3 separate regions of the Homo sapiens genome follow, and regions 2 and 3 are each linked to region 1. Evidence: promoter capture Hi-C in 16 types of primary human blood cells and fetal thymus (Javierre and others, 2016). All regions are on one chromosome and are shown on one strand. Each heading gives the region's core, a stretch centred on a gene start or on the middle of the fragment in contact. The rest is flanking DNA. Distances are from core to core; before and after follow the strand shown. Region 1 holds the start of ZNF235 (zinc finger protein 235). Region 2 holds the start of ZNF17 (zinc finger protein 17). Region 3 holds the start of ZNF749 (zinc finger protein 749).

Region 1 (3,724 bases), core at 873-3,372:
TTTCATCTAGTTTATTCAACCATAAGACACTTAATTTCATTTATGTCAGGATCAGGATCAAAGTATGTAATGAAATATTTGAAGCCGAACACAAATTAGAAAACAATTCAAGATTTTACACATGCCCATATTACAACGTTGTCTTAGATTCCCGGCCAATGGAGCTGCTTTTGTTTGCCATAACAGTACACATTTAAAATAAATGAAGTTCAAGATATTTCTCTGGCTTAATATTTATATTGCCTTTTTGTGGGTTCTTAGTATATTAGAACGAATAGCACATTAAACAAAACACTGTCATGAGCCCTTAGGTACCTTGAGGAATAATGGAGGGAAAAGAGTCAAACACTTTACTCCCTTCTCTCCTTGTCACCGACCCCTAAATATACACAACTTGGACACTAAGGACTAAAACTCCATCCTCTTTCCCTGCCCCTCACTGATACGGAAGAGGGGAATGGAAGTGCTGGAGGGGAGAAGGGTGTGGTCCCTGACTAGGGCTCTACCCCCAGGCCTGTGGCCACGGACCTAGGTGAGGACAGGCATTCCTGCCTTTGTGCCCAAATATTGCATTTCCCAAGACCACCCTGGCCCACCACGCCCCCATCCTGTGCCTATAAAAACCCTGATACCCTAGCAGGCAGAGACACAAGCTGCTGGACGTTGAGAGGAGAGCATTGGCGGACACACAAACAGCTGGCTGTCGAGAGGCTGTCGAGGGGAGCGGGTCGGCAAAAGAGCACACTGAAGAGACCGGCAGGCCAGCAGGCCATTAACCGGTGGAATAACGCAGTTTGGCCTGGGTAGTCGGAGGAGCGCCCAGGCCGCTGAGAGGCTGACTCCAGGCGAAAACCATCTCCCTTCTGGCTCCCCCTTCTGCTGAGAGCTACTTACAAATCGTTCTCCAAGGTTTCTCCAATCCTTGCACTCTTTCTCCAAGCCTATGTGTGATGCGATTCTTCTGGTACACCAAGGCAAGAACCTCTGGGATACAGAAAGCCCTCTCTTGCTTGCGATAAGTCAGGGGTCTAATTGAGCTAACACAAGCCTCCTACAGATGGCTGAACTAAAAAAGCACCCTATAACACACGCCCACTGGGGCTTCAGGAGCTGTAAACATTCACCCCTAGACACTGCCGTGGGGTTGGAGCCCTACAACCTGCCCGTGTGCATGCTCCCCTAGAGGTTTGAGCGGCTGGGCACGAAGAAGCGAGCCACACCCCATCACATGCCCTGGGAGAGGGAGAAGTGAACTTTTCCCGTTTCATCACAATTTACTTTCGGCACTAACATGATTGTTCAGCTGTCTTCATCAGCAGGCCTTTATTCCAGGAGATTCCTGCCCAAGCAAACTGTTTAATTGTTCATTATGGGAACTTCCACAGAGACCCATCAAATTTTCAATCTCTTCCAAAGAAAGTGTCAATAGATTGCAATTTAAGATTCTTTGCTTCAAAAATCCTTGCTATATCCACCAATCCTGGACTGTAGTATCATGATCATTATGCAATACTAATAAAATCCCTTGCATTGAAAGACCCGCCTTAAACATCCAGTTCTCAATCAGTTCCAACCTTGCCTTGACACTTTGCTCTGTGAAGGTGCCAACGCTCCGTCGAAGTGTTGTTCTCCATTACTGCAATCAACAATAAATTCTGTTTTTTGTCTTATCAACAGGTTGAGTTGATGATATTTGGGGAGCCGGCATTTGACACAAGTTTGAGATCTGGTGTTCCTTAACGTTCAGCGTCCATCGGAGCTCAGCCTAAGTCACTTTTACGCTTCCCATTTTAGCCTACCCTCTGCTTCTGCGAAAAATTTTGGTTTCTAACTTATTTTAATAATACAAGCTGCACTTTTCATTTTTATATGTCATCACTTTAAAAATTTTACAATTATTTTCTCATGAGCTTTTAAAAATGAATAAAACAAAAACGAATCTCACAGTAGTAGCACCAGAGAAGTGGCTCAAACCCAACCGGCTTGAGTCAAAACAAAGCCCAGCTGGTGGGAAGCGCTGCCCTTGGAGCATTCTGGGAACTGTAGTCCAGGAGTGAGAGAACTCTGAGACGCTTCCGCTTAGGAATTCTGGGAAGTGGAGTCCACGAACCGTGGGCACTCGGAGGCACTTCCGCTCCAGGAAGGCGAGGTCGGATCTGAGATATCTCCCAGGGAGGTGAGTCAGCTCCGGGTCTCCAAGACTTCTCCGAGCCCTCTTTGCCTAGGCGTGGGGCCAGCAATGAACCCGTCCTTGGCTTGGGGAAGAGAAGCCGCGGCCAGCGCTGGAGGGCGGGGTTGGGAGGCTGCGGGAGTTTGCGTCCCCTCGGCAGAACCTCTTGCGTGGGAGGCGGGCTCGCGTCGTCCTTCGAGGTTGAGGGTCTGCTGCCCTAGCCGTCCTCACGCACCTACCAGCCAGTCCTGCCTGCTCCTCGCAGTAAAATATTGGGCAAGTTACTTAATCTCTCCTTGTCTCAGTTTCCTCGTGCCTGTAAAGGGTTAGTGCGTTCCCAGTGATGTTCTTGTGAGAATTAAATGAGGTTTTATAGAAATAAGCTTAAAACCAGTGCATAGGAAAATGTTGGATGCCACCGTTAATTCTGTTATAATACTGAAAAAGACGCCTGTTGTTTGGAAACTCCTCTGAGTCTAGGAGATCCAGCTACGGAGCCGCTGTCCCTTCTCTAATCCTTGCCTGATGTGGGGCCGTTCCTGGATTCTTGGACTTTTCTAGCCTCTTGTTTAGGAGACAGGAATTAGTTCCAGCGGAGCCTGGGGAATGTCCTGTGTGTTTTATCTCAGATAAGCGATCGTCATTACGGATTTGCAGAGTGCCAGAGGTGTCCTGAGGCCCTAATAAATGTTCAGTATAATGTGGTTATAACCAATAATCCCGTGTGGTTAACTTAAGTGTAACACCATTTCTTAGAGAGTTTTAGGTTTTTATTAGTCATTGCTTTCATGCATGTGGAAAAAGAGACTTTCTTGAGGCTCCTCCAGCTTAGTAACATTTGCAAGTAATTACATCTGTTGGAGGAAAAAAAAACCTGTGGCAGTTTAACTATCATTACCAACGGAACTAATTATGTTAGACAACCAATCACAGTTACAGACTTTTCTGAGGGTAATGGTAACTCACAGGACAGAGCAATTATTTTTGAGTTCTGGGTTTCTTAAAAGATTCATTTTCTAGAAAGCATACTCAAAAGGGCAGTTTTATGAAGCATAATAGCACTTGCTTGTCAGAAGCTGCAGGAAATAGAGAATACAGGCATTATTATTGTCCCCATTCACAGGTAACTGAATTAAGGCACAGAGAGATTAATAATTCGCTTAAGGTTTATACTGCTGATCAGTTGAAAATAGGTAGAAATGCCAAAATTTGAAGCCAGGCATTTTGGCTCTGTTACATTCCCCTGCCTGTCTGTGTCTCATTTCCTTGGAAACTAAAGTTCAGAAGGAGTACACAGAGAGCTGTATTTGATTTAGGTCTGTTAATATGAAATGTTCATGAACAAAAGCAGCTGGTTGAGGGGGCCGAGGGGTAGCTGGGAGCTAGCTCCCGTTCTCCTCACTAAGCCGTGTGCAACTGTGTCTGCCTAGAGACAGGGGGACCTTTCTCTGAAGTGTCACATAAAAGTGCCATGGTGACTAATGCCATCCCTAACCTATCTCATGATGCCTTTCCCTCCCTCAGGTTCACTTCCCCGGAACTCTGCCTTTTCCC
Region 2 (3,917 bases), core at 815-3,314, about 13 Mb before region 1:
GTGATACATAAAACTTTCCATTGCAAGCAAATAGAAAAATTAACATTCAGCCGGGCATGGTGGCTCAAGCCTCTAATCCCAGCACTTTGGGAGGCCGAGGTGGGCGGATCACGAGGTGCAGAGATCAAGACCATCCTGGCCAACCATGGTGAAACCCTGTCTCTATCAAAAATACAAAAATTAGATGGGCATGGTGGCGCATGTCTGTAATCCCAGCTACTCGGGAGGCTGAGGTAGGAGAATCGCTTGAACCCGGGAGGCAGAGGTTGCAGTGAGCCGAGACCACGCCACTGCACTCCAGCCTGGCGACAGAGCGAGACTCCGTCTCAAAAAAAAAAAGAAAAAAGAAAAATCAACATTCAACAATTATTAAGTGAATAAATTTAACTATTGGTTACATTCATTTCTAACTGCCGACCTATGTGTACATATTTAGAAGGATACTGGTTCATTAGTGGTTAAATAAATGTTTTATACATTCGGCCGGGCGCGGTGGCTCATGCCTGTAATCCCAGCACTTTGGGAGGCTGAGGCGTGCAGATCATGAGGTCAGGAGATAGAGACCATACTAGCTAACACGGTGAAACCCCGTCTCTACTAAAAATGCAAAAAATTAGCCTGGCGTGGTGGCGGGCACTTGTAGTCCCAGCTACTCGGGAGGCTGAGGCAGGAGAATTGCTTGAACTCGGGAGGCGGAGCTTGCAGTGAGCCGAGATCGCGCCACTGCACTCCAACCTGGGCGATGGAGCGAGACTCTGTCTCAAAAAAAAAAAAAATGTTTTACACATTCATAAATAAATAAGTTGCAGGGAGGGGATAAGCAAGCAGGTCAGTTACTGGTCCCATCAGCAACCAGGCCTGCCTGCTACAAATTCAGTTGCTGGAAGCTTGCTGGAGGCCCTTGACTAGATGTGAGAAAGCCCTACCCCCGTCTGGACCCAATGTCCCCACTAGTCTGGATGACCTTCCTATTGTTCCACAGAGTGGGCCTGGGGGGCTGCTGGGTCTGCAGGTGCAGAAATCTAAACCACCTCACACCTCAGTCTCCAGCCTAGGCCAGTTCCTTAACCCATTCAGAACTCCGTTTTTGCAGATATGAGCCAGAATCCCTCCTATGACAGGTCTGCGCCTTTCTAAAGGTAGCGTCAGGCTTATGGACCCACCCATGATCTGCCCTCCAAAACTCAGCCCTCCAAAATGCAACTCATAATCCTCTCTGAAACCTGCTCCCTAAGCTGACTTCTCCAACTCCATTCTTTCAGATTTTCAGGCCAAAACAAAATCCATGGAATAGACCCTTCACTACCCTCACTGCTACATTTGATGCAGCAGGAAATCCTGTCGACTCTATCTCTGAGATCCATCCAGAATCTCATCACACTTCCCCTCTACTGCAACCCCTCTGGCCCATCCCTACCATAACTCAAGGGGTCTCCTCAGCGGTCCCCTTGTCCTGGTTTAACATCCTGTTTTTCCCAACTTTAAACGTCTACCTCTGGGCATAACCCTTCCTGCACAGCCTTCTACGGCTTTCAGCAGCTCCGCTGCCCTCCCAGGCGAGACTCCGCCTCACCCTCAGCTCCGTGGAGACAAAGACGCTCGGGCTCCCCAGTGCCGCCCGCTCTGCAGCACCTCTAAGCCTCGCACGTGCAGGTCCCTGACAGGAGCTCCCCCGCCTCACAGCACCGCGGACACCGGTACCCCACACAAGAACGCTCCTCTCTTTGGGACACAGGGGCCTGACCTGCAGGGCCCCTCCTCGGGGCTTCGGCACTCGGAGGAGGGATCGGGCGGGGCGCCCTGGGACGCGGCACCCACCTCAGTCAGGTTCATCGGCGCAGCCTCCGCCAGCACAGCCAGGGAAGAGCGGGGCGGGAGCGGCAGTGACCTGGACGCTGACAGAGGCACCAACGCCTGCAACCGATTCAACCGAGCCTCACTCTAGCCTCTGTACAACGGGGAAACCTTTTCTCGCGTTTTTCCGCTTTTTCACCTCAGTCTCGACTCAGCCTGAAGGTGAACAGATCCCAACGCAGCCATATTGACAACCCCAGGAGGCGTTGCAGGAAGTCCCGCCCACACGCATTGCGAACCCCCGTAGACGCCGCTCTGCTAGGCCTTCATTGGCTACACTCGCTGCTTGTGTCCGCCGCTGTGTCTTTTGGGTAATGTAGTTCCCAGGCCACTGCCTGCCCCGCTTCTGAACTTAAGTTAACTCGCGTTCAGGATGAAAGCCAGGAGGATCCTCCTGAGGCTTTGAGAAATGCAGTTGCGGGGCTCCAAGGACGTGGAGGGGCTTCATTGGCTTTTAAACGGCAAGCATCCAGATTTTCCCGGAAGGCAGTCTAGAACAAGTCAGAGAAATGTTTCAGAGACCTGTCCTTTCAGATTCTGTAAAGCACAGCAAGTTCCCAAAAGACGAACATCCGAAGGAACATGGCCAACCATAAAGAACTGGTCTTCCACGCATAGCGGTCAGCTCTTTTGTGCTTGCCAAATACACACAGAACGAAGCTCTGGAGACTGTTTTATGATCTTCAATGTGCTCTGCTGGGCACATTGAAAAGACCCAGACATGGCATGATGGGGAGTTTGAGGAGTAATATCTTTCCTTTCTGAATAATCAGTTATTGTCTTTCAGCCTACCCAGCAACACTTTATTCACATGATACTTATTACTTTATATCTGAGATATTTTCCACTTATTTTAAGAGACTGAAACCTAACTGAAAAGGAAAAGCGACTTATCTACCATTATCTGCCAGAATAGTGTGGCCTTCCACCAGTCAAAGCCCTTGTGCAAAGAAAGCATCTTACTCCTGAGATAAAGGTTTGGGAATGCATGATCTCATCTCATTAGTGGAAAGTGATTTATCATTTCGCCTGAAATTGTATCAACAGTGTCTGCACAGGGAGTTGAAATTGTCTCTGAATAACTCTTGTGAAATGGCTATTACTGAAACTATTAATGACGATTATGTAGATATCCAAAGAAAGTGGCAAAAATAGTTATAGAGAAACATATTTGTGATAGGAGGAAAAAAGCTAAGGTTGTCCTGGAACCTTGGACACACTCAAGTTTGGTGTCCAAAATCTGATTCTTTTTCAAACTTGAAAACATTGTGCATTAACAGCTTGAAGGGAGAGGTAAAGACTATATATTAAAAGAGTTACCAGAAAAGTAAAGCTGAATAGGGAAACTGTGCTGTCGTATTTATTACTCTAACATATTTGATGAACACTCATTCGATGCCAGGTACAATACTAAGTGCATGGGACACATTAGGAGTAGGGTTGCTAGCTGTCTGTGGTCCTCTAAGACACGTAAGACGTATTTAATGAATTAGTCCTCAGTCCTGTATTGACCTTGTCAGGTCACTTTAAATGTCCTGTATTCCGCTTTTTACAATAAATTACAAAACCTCAGAAGTTAGAGCTATTTTTCTACCACTATAATTGTAAATTAAATCACTTAGCAGCTATGTTAGCTGAAAATCATACCCCCACAAATAAAGATATGGACATAGTCTTGTGATCTCTCCTGCAGAATTGGTGAGGGAAAAATAAAATGGAGCACTGAGATATTCAGTAAAGGAGAAGACTGTTTTTTGGCCAAAGTCTTGAAATTTGGTTTATCAAATTACAAAAAGAAGGAAGGAAGGAGAGAGAAAGAAGGAAACGAAAGGAAAAGAAAAAACCACCCAACTGAAGGTCTGGAAGAGTTAAAGCTGTTCAGTAGTGCCAGCTACATGGAAGTTAAGACGGGAGGATTACTTGAGTTCATAAGTTCAAAACCAGTTTGGGCAATATAGTGAGATCCCCGTCTCTGAAAAAACTGAAAATTAAAAACATGTTAATCATTTACCAACAATACATCCCTACCATCCTACAATTCTATTTCTAGATATTTACCAACA
Region 3 (3,791 bases), core at 128-2,627, about 13 Mb before region 1:
TTAACTGTGGTGGAGGATGTGAGAAAGCCCTGCCCAGTTTTGGACCCAGTTGCTGCATGGCCTTATCTTGTTCCCTAAAGAGTGGCCCTCAGGGCCAGCTGAGTTAGAAGGGTGGAGTGACTACAATTATCTCATGCCTCAGTCTCTGTATTCCAGGGCAACTCCTTATCCATCCAGGCCTCTTTTTCAACAGAAACAGACCAGACTCTTAGCCCATATCTGCTCCCTTCTGCAGGGAGTATCAGAGATGCCCTCCCTACCATGGTCTTTCCTCCAAATCTGAGCCCTCCCCTACCTCAGCCCATATGAAAAAACGATGTAGGATTCTTCCTTCTCAATCTGATCCACAGGCCAACTTCTCAAGTGCACAACTTCTAACTCATTTAAAGCTCCAGGCCAGCTACCTTCCCTCACCTTTGGAAATTACGTCCACCTACCCATGTGATGTCGCCCAAAATCCAACCCAGGATCTTCTGTCTGAAACCCGCTCCTTAAGCTGATATCTCTAATTCCATTCTTTCAGATTTTTCAGGCCAAAACAAAACCTATGGAAGACACCATTCACTACCGACTTTCCCTCACAGCTATGTTTGATGCAGCAGGAAATCCTGTTGACCCTATCTCTGAGATCCATCCAGAGTCTCATCACATCTCCCCTCTACTGCAACCCCTCTGGCCCAGCCCTACCATAACTCAAGGGGTCTCCTCAGCGGTCCCCCTGCCCCCGTTCAACATCCTGTTTTCCCCAACTTTAAACTTCTAACTCTGGGCGTGACCCTCCCATTCGTCCTCCCTGCACAGCCCTCTATGGCTCTCTGCGGCTCCACTGCCCTTCCAGGGGAGACTCCGCCTCAACCTCTGCTCCTTGGAGACAAAGACGCTCGGGCTCCCCAGTGCCGCCCGTTCTGCAGTGCCTCCAAGCCCCAGAGACGTGTCGGTCTCCGACGGGAGCTCCCCCGCCTCATCGCACCGCAGTCCCAGTCCCGGGCACCCCACACAAGAACGCCCCTCTCTTAGAGACACAAGGGCCTAACCTGCAGGGCGGCTCCTTGGGACTTCAGCACTGGGAGGAGGGGTTGGGCGGGGCGGCCTGGGACGCTGCACGCACCTCGGTCAGGTTCATCGGCGCGGCCTCCTCCAGTCCACCCAGGGAAGAGCGGGGCGGGAACGGCGGTCACCTGGACGCTGACGGAGGCAGGGGCGCCTGCAGCCGACTCAGCCGATCCGCACTCTAGCCTCTGTGTAGAAGGAACACCGCTTCTCGCGTTTTTCCGCTCTTTCACCTCAGTCCCGACCCAGAGCTCTGGGACCCTCTAAATCAGTGAACAGATCCCTAGGTAGCCATGCTAACGCAACCATGAGGGCGCCGCCAGAAGTCCCGCCCACACAATTGAGACCTCATTAGTCGTCTCTCTGCTAGACCAATGGCTACACTCGCTGCCCTGCCCCCGCAGTGTCTTCTGGGTAATGTAGTTCTCACGTTGCTGCCTGTGTCGCCCGCAGTGTCTTCTGGGTAATGTAGTTCCCACGCTGCTGCCTGCCTCGCCTCACAATGCTGGGCGCGCGGACCTTACGGAAAAAAGCTGGAGGCTCCTGGAGGAGCGTTAAGAAATGCAGTTCCGGGGCTCTTAAGGACGTGGAGGGGCTTTGCTGACTCCTAAACTGCAAGTAACCAGATTTTCCCGGAGAGCAGTCTAGGACAAGTCTGAGAAATATTTCAGAGACCTGTCGTTTCAGATTCTCTGAAGCACAGCAAGTCCCGAAAGGAAGAACATCAGAAGCGACATGGCTGACCATAATGAACTGGTCCTCCATTCATAGCGGTCAGCTCTTTTGTGCTTGTCAAGTACACACATACTGAGGCTCTGGAGACTTTTTTTTGATCGTTAGTGTGCTTCTGTTGGGACAAGAAAGAAAAGACCCACACAGGATGTGATGGAGAGTTGAAGGAGGAATATCTTTCTGTCGACGAAAAGGGTGGAACTTTGTGAAATAGTTGAAGAGATTTATTCTGAGACAAATATGAGTGACTAATGGCCCATGACACGGCTCCAAGATATCCTAAGAACATATGCCCAGGGTGGCCCATCTACAGCTTGGTTTTAACAATTTAGGAAGACGTAAGACATCAATCAATACATGTAAAATGTACATTGGATTCCTCTGGAAAGGCGCAACTGGAAGGGAGGGGCGGGGCTTCCAGGTCAGGTGGGTTCAAAGATTTTCCGATTGGCAATTGGTTGAAAGAGTTTGTATCTAAAGACCTGGAATCAGTAGAAATGGTTGTCTGGGTTAAGGGGTTGTGGGCCGGGCGTGGTATCTCACGCCTGTAATCCCAGCACTTTGGGAGGCCGAGGTGGGCGGATCACCTGAGGTTGGGAGTTCGAGACCAGCCTGACCAACATGTAGAAACCCCATCTCTACTAAAAATACAAAATTAGACGGGCATGGTGGCACATGCCTGTAATGCCAGCTACTCGGGAGGCTGAGGCAGGAGAATCGCTTGAACCCGGGAGGCGGAGGTTACGGTGAGCCGAGATCTCGCCATTGTACTCCAGCCCGTGCAACAAGAGCGAAACTCCGTCTCAAAAACAAAAAAAGACAAGGGGTTGTGAAGACCAAGGTTATATCATGCAGATGAAGCCTCCAGGTAGTCTTATAAGGCCTTATGATAAGGCCTCAGCTCCTGAGCTAAAGCTATCTTCCCACCTCAGCCTCTAGAGCAGCTGGGACTGTAGGTACAGGACACCGTCCCTGGCTTTATTCAGCTTTTTACAATGCACTACAAAAAGTCGGCATTTAGAGCTATTTTTCTCTCACTGCAATTGAGTAGCAGTGAGAGAAAAATTGAGTAGCAATAGTATTGCCATCAGGTGGTGGCAATACTACCTGAAAACCATGCCCCCAACAAATGAAGATTTGGATAATGCCTTATGGTCTCTTCTGCAGGATTAGTGAAGGAAGAACAAAGAAAAGACCAAAAATTAAAACCCATTCTCTTTATATTCAGAAAAGGAAAGGGCTATTTTTTGGCCAAAGCGTTACAATTTAGTTTGCCAACCAGTTTAAAAAAAAAAAAAAAAGGAAAAATTAACTCTGCCCAACTGAAGGTCTGGCAAAAACAAACCTTTGAAAGGGTTGTGGGAAATTAATGAATATTAAACTAATTTTCAACATAACCAGTTAAAAATAAGAAATCCCACTAACGTGGATAGTTCCTTATTTAGGTGTGAGAAATTTGCTATACAAATGGACAACGGCTACACCAAATATAAAAATTGACTCTGACCCATAATCTACACCAACCCATTCAGAAATCTAATGTGGTATCTACAGTAACCACTCCCAAGTCAGAATACTATGTCTAGCAACAAGGCCAGGAAGCCAGACAACATCCCACATAACAACTCGCTTAAAATGGCTAAGACATGACTAAGAACTGACAGCTTTCTAATTGTTGCCCATATGTTCAACTTAGGACCAACTGGAGAAAGTCAGTGCATCACTAGCCAATCACATAGGATGTCAACCTTCTAAATAACCCCTTCACACACACACACACACACACACACACACACACACACACACACTCCTCAAGACTATAGCCTCCAGTCATGGCATACCTAATACTTTACCTTTTATCTACTATGAAGCTTTTTACACCTCTGCTTGCCTTTCAAGCTCTGCTGAGTGCAAGAGATTGTGGATGACTCCTTTACTACGGTGTGGTCTGATTTAATAGGCTATGTTTGTTCTCATTTGGGTCTTCATTTATTTCCAAGTTGTCTGTT

The links. The method cuts DNA at HindIII sites, captures the fragments that hold promoters and counts their contacts. A CHiCAGO score of 5 or more calls a contact.
Region 2: a contact is called between the fragment with the promoter of ZNF17 here and the fragment with the promoter of ZNF235 in region 1, in 2 of 17 cell types (total CD4 T cells and total CD8 T cells). The highest score is 10.5, in total CD4 T cells.
Region 3: a contact is called between the fragment with the promoter of ZNF749 here and the fragment with the promoter of ZNF235 in region 1, in 5 of 17 cell types (non-activated CD4 T cells, total CD4 T cells, activated CD4 T cells and 2 more). The highest score is 27.2, in non-activated CD4 T cells.

Annotation. Positions count from the first base shown.
Region 1 is chr19:44,303,423-44,307,146 of GRCh38, reverse strand. It overlaps ZNF235 (zinc finger protein 235), which reads left to right and starts at 2,122. Exons shown (of 5, transcript NM_004234.4): 1 at 2,122-2,176; 2 at 3,695-3,724. RefSeq lists enhancers at 208-707, 708-1,209, 1,786-2,339. The HindIII fragment of the contact is 5,796 bases long and covers 1-2,555 here.
Region 2 is chr19:57,409,308-57,413,224 of GRCh38, reverse strand. It overlaps ZNF17 (zinc finger protein 17), which reads right to left and starts at 2,064. Exons shown (of 4, transcript NM_001330617.2): 1 at 1,819-2,064. RefSeq lists a silencer at 1,365-1,567 and enhancers at 1,811-1,870, 1,951-2,060. The HindIII fragment of the contact is 5,033 bases long and covers 890-3,917 here.
Region 3 is chr19:57,432,911-57,436,701 of GRCh38, reverse strand. ZNF749 (zinc finger protein 749) reads right to left here and starts at 1,377. Exons shown (of 3, transcript NM_001023561.4): 1 at 1,109-1,377. The coding sequence starts at 1,123. RefSeq lists enhancers at 813-862, 1,493-1,792. The HindIII fragment of the contact is 4,352 bases long and covers 1-3,655 here.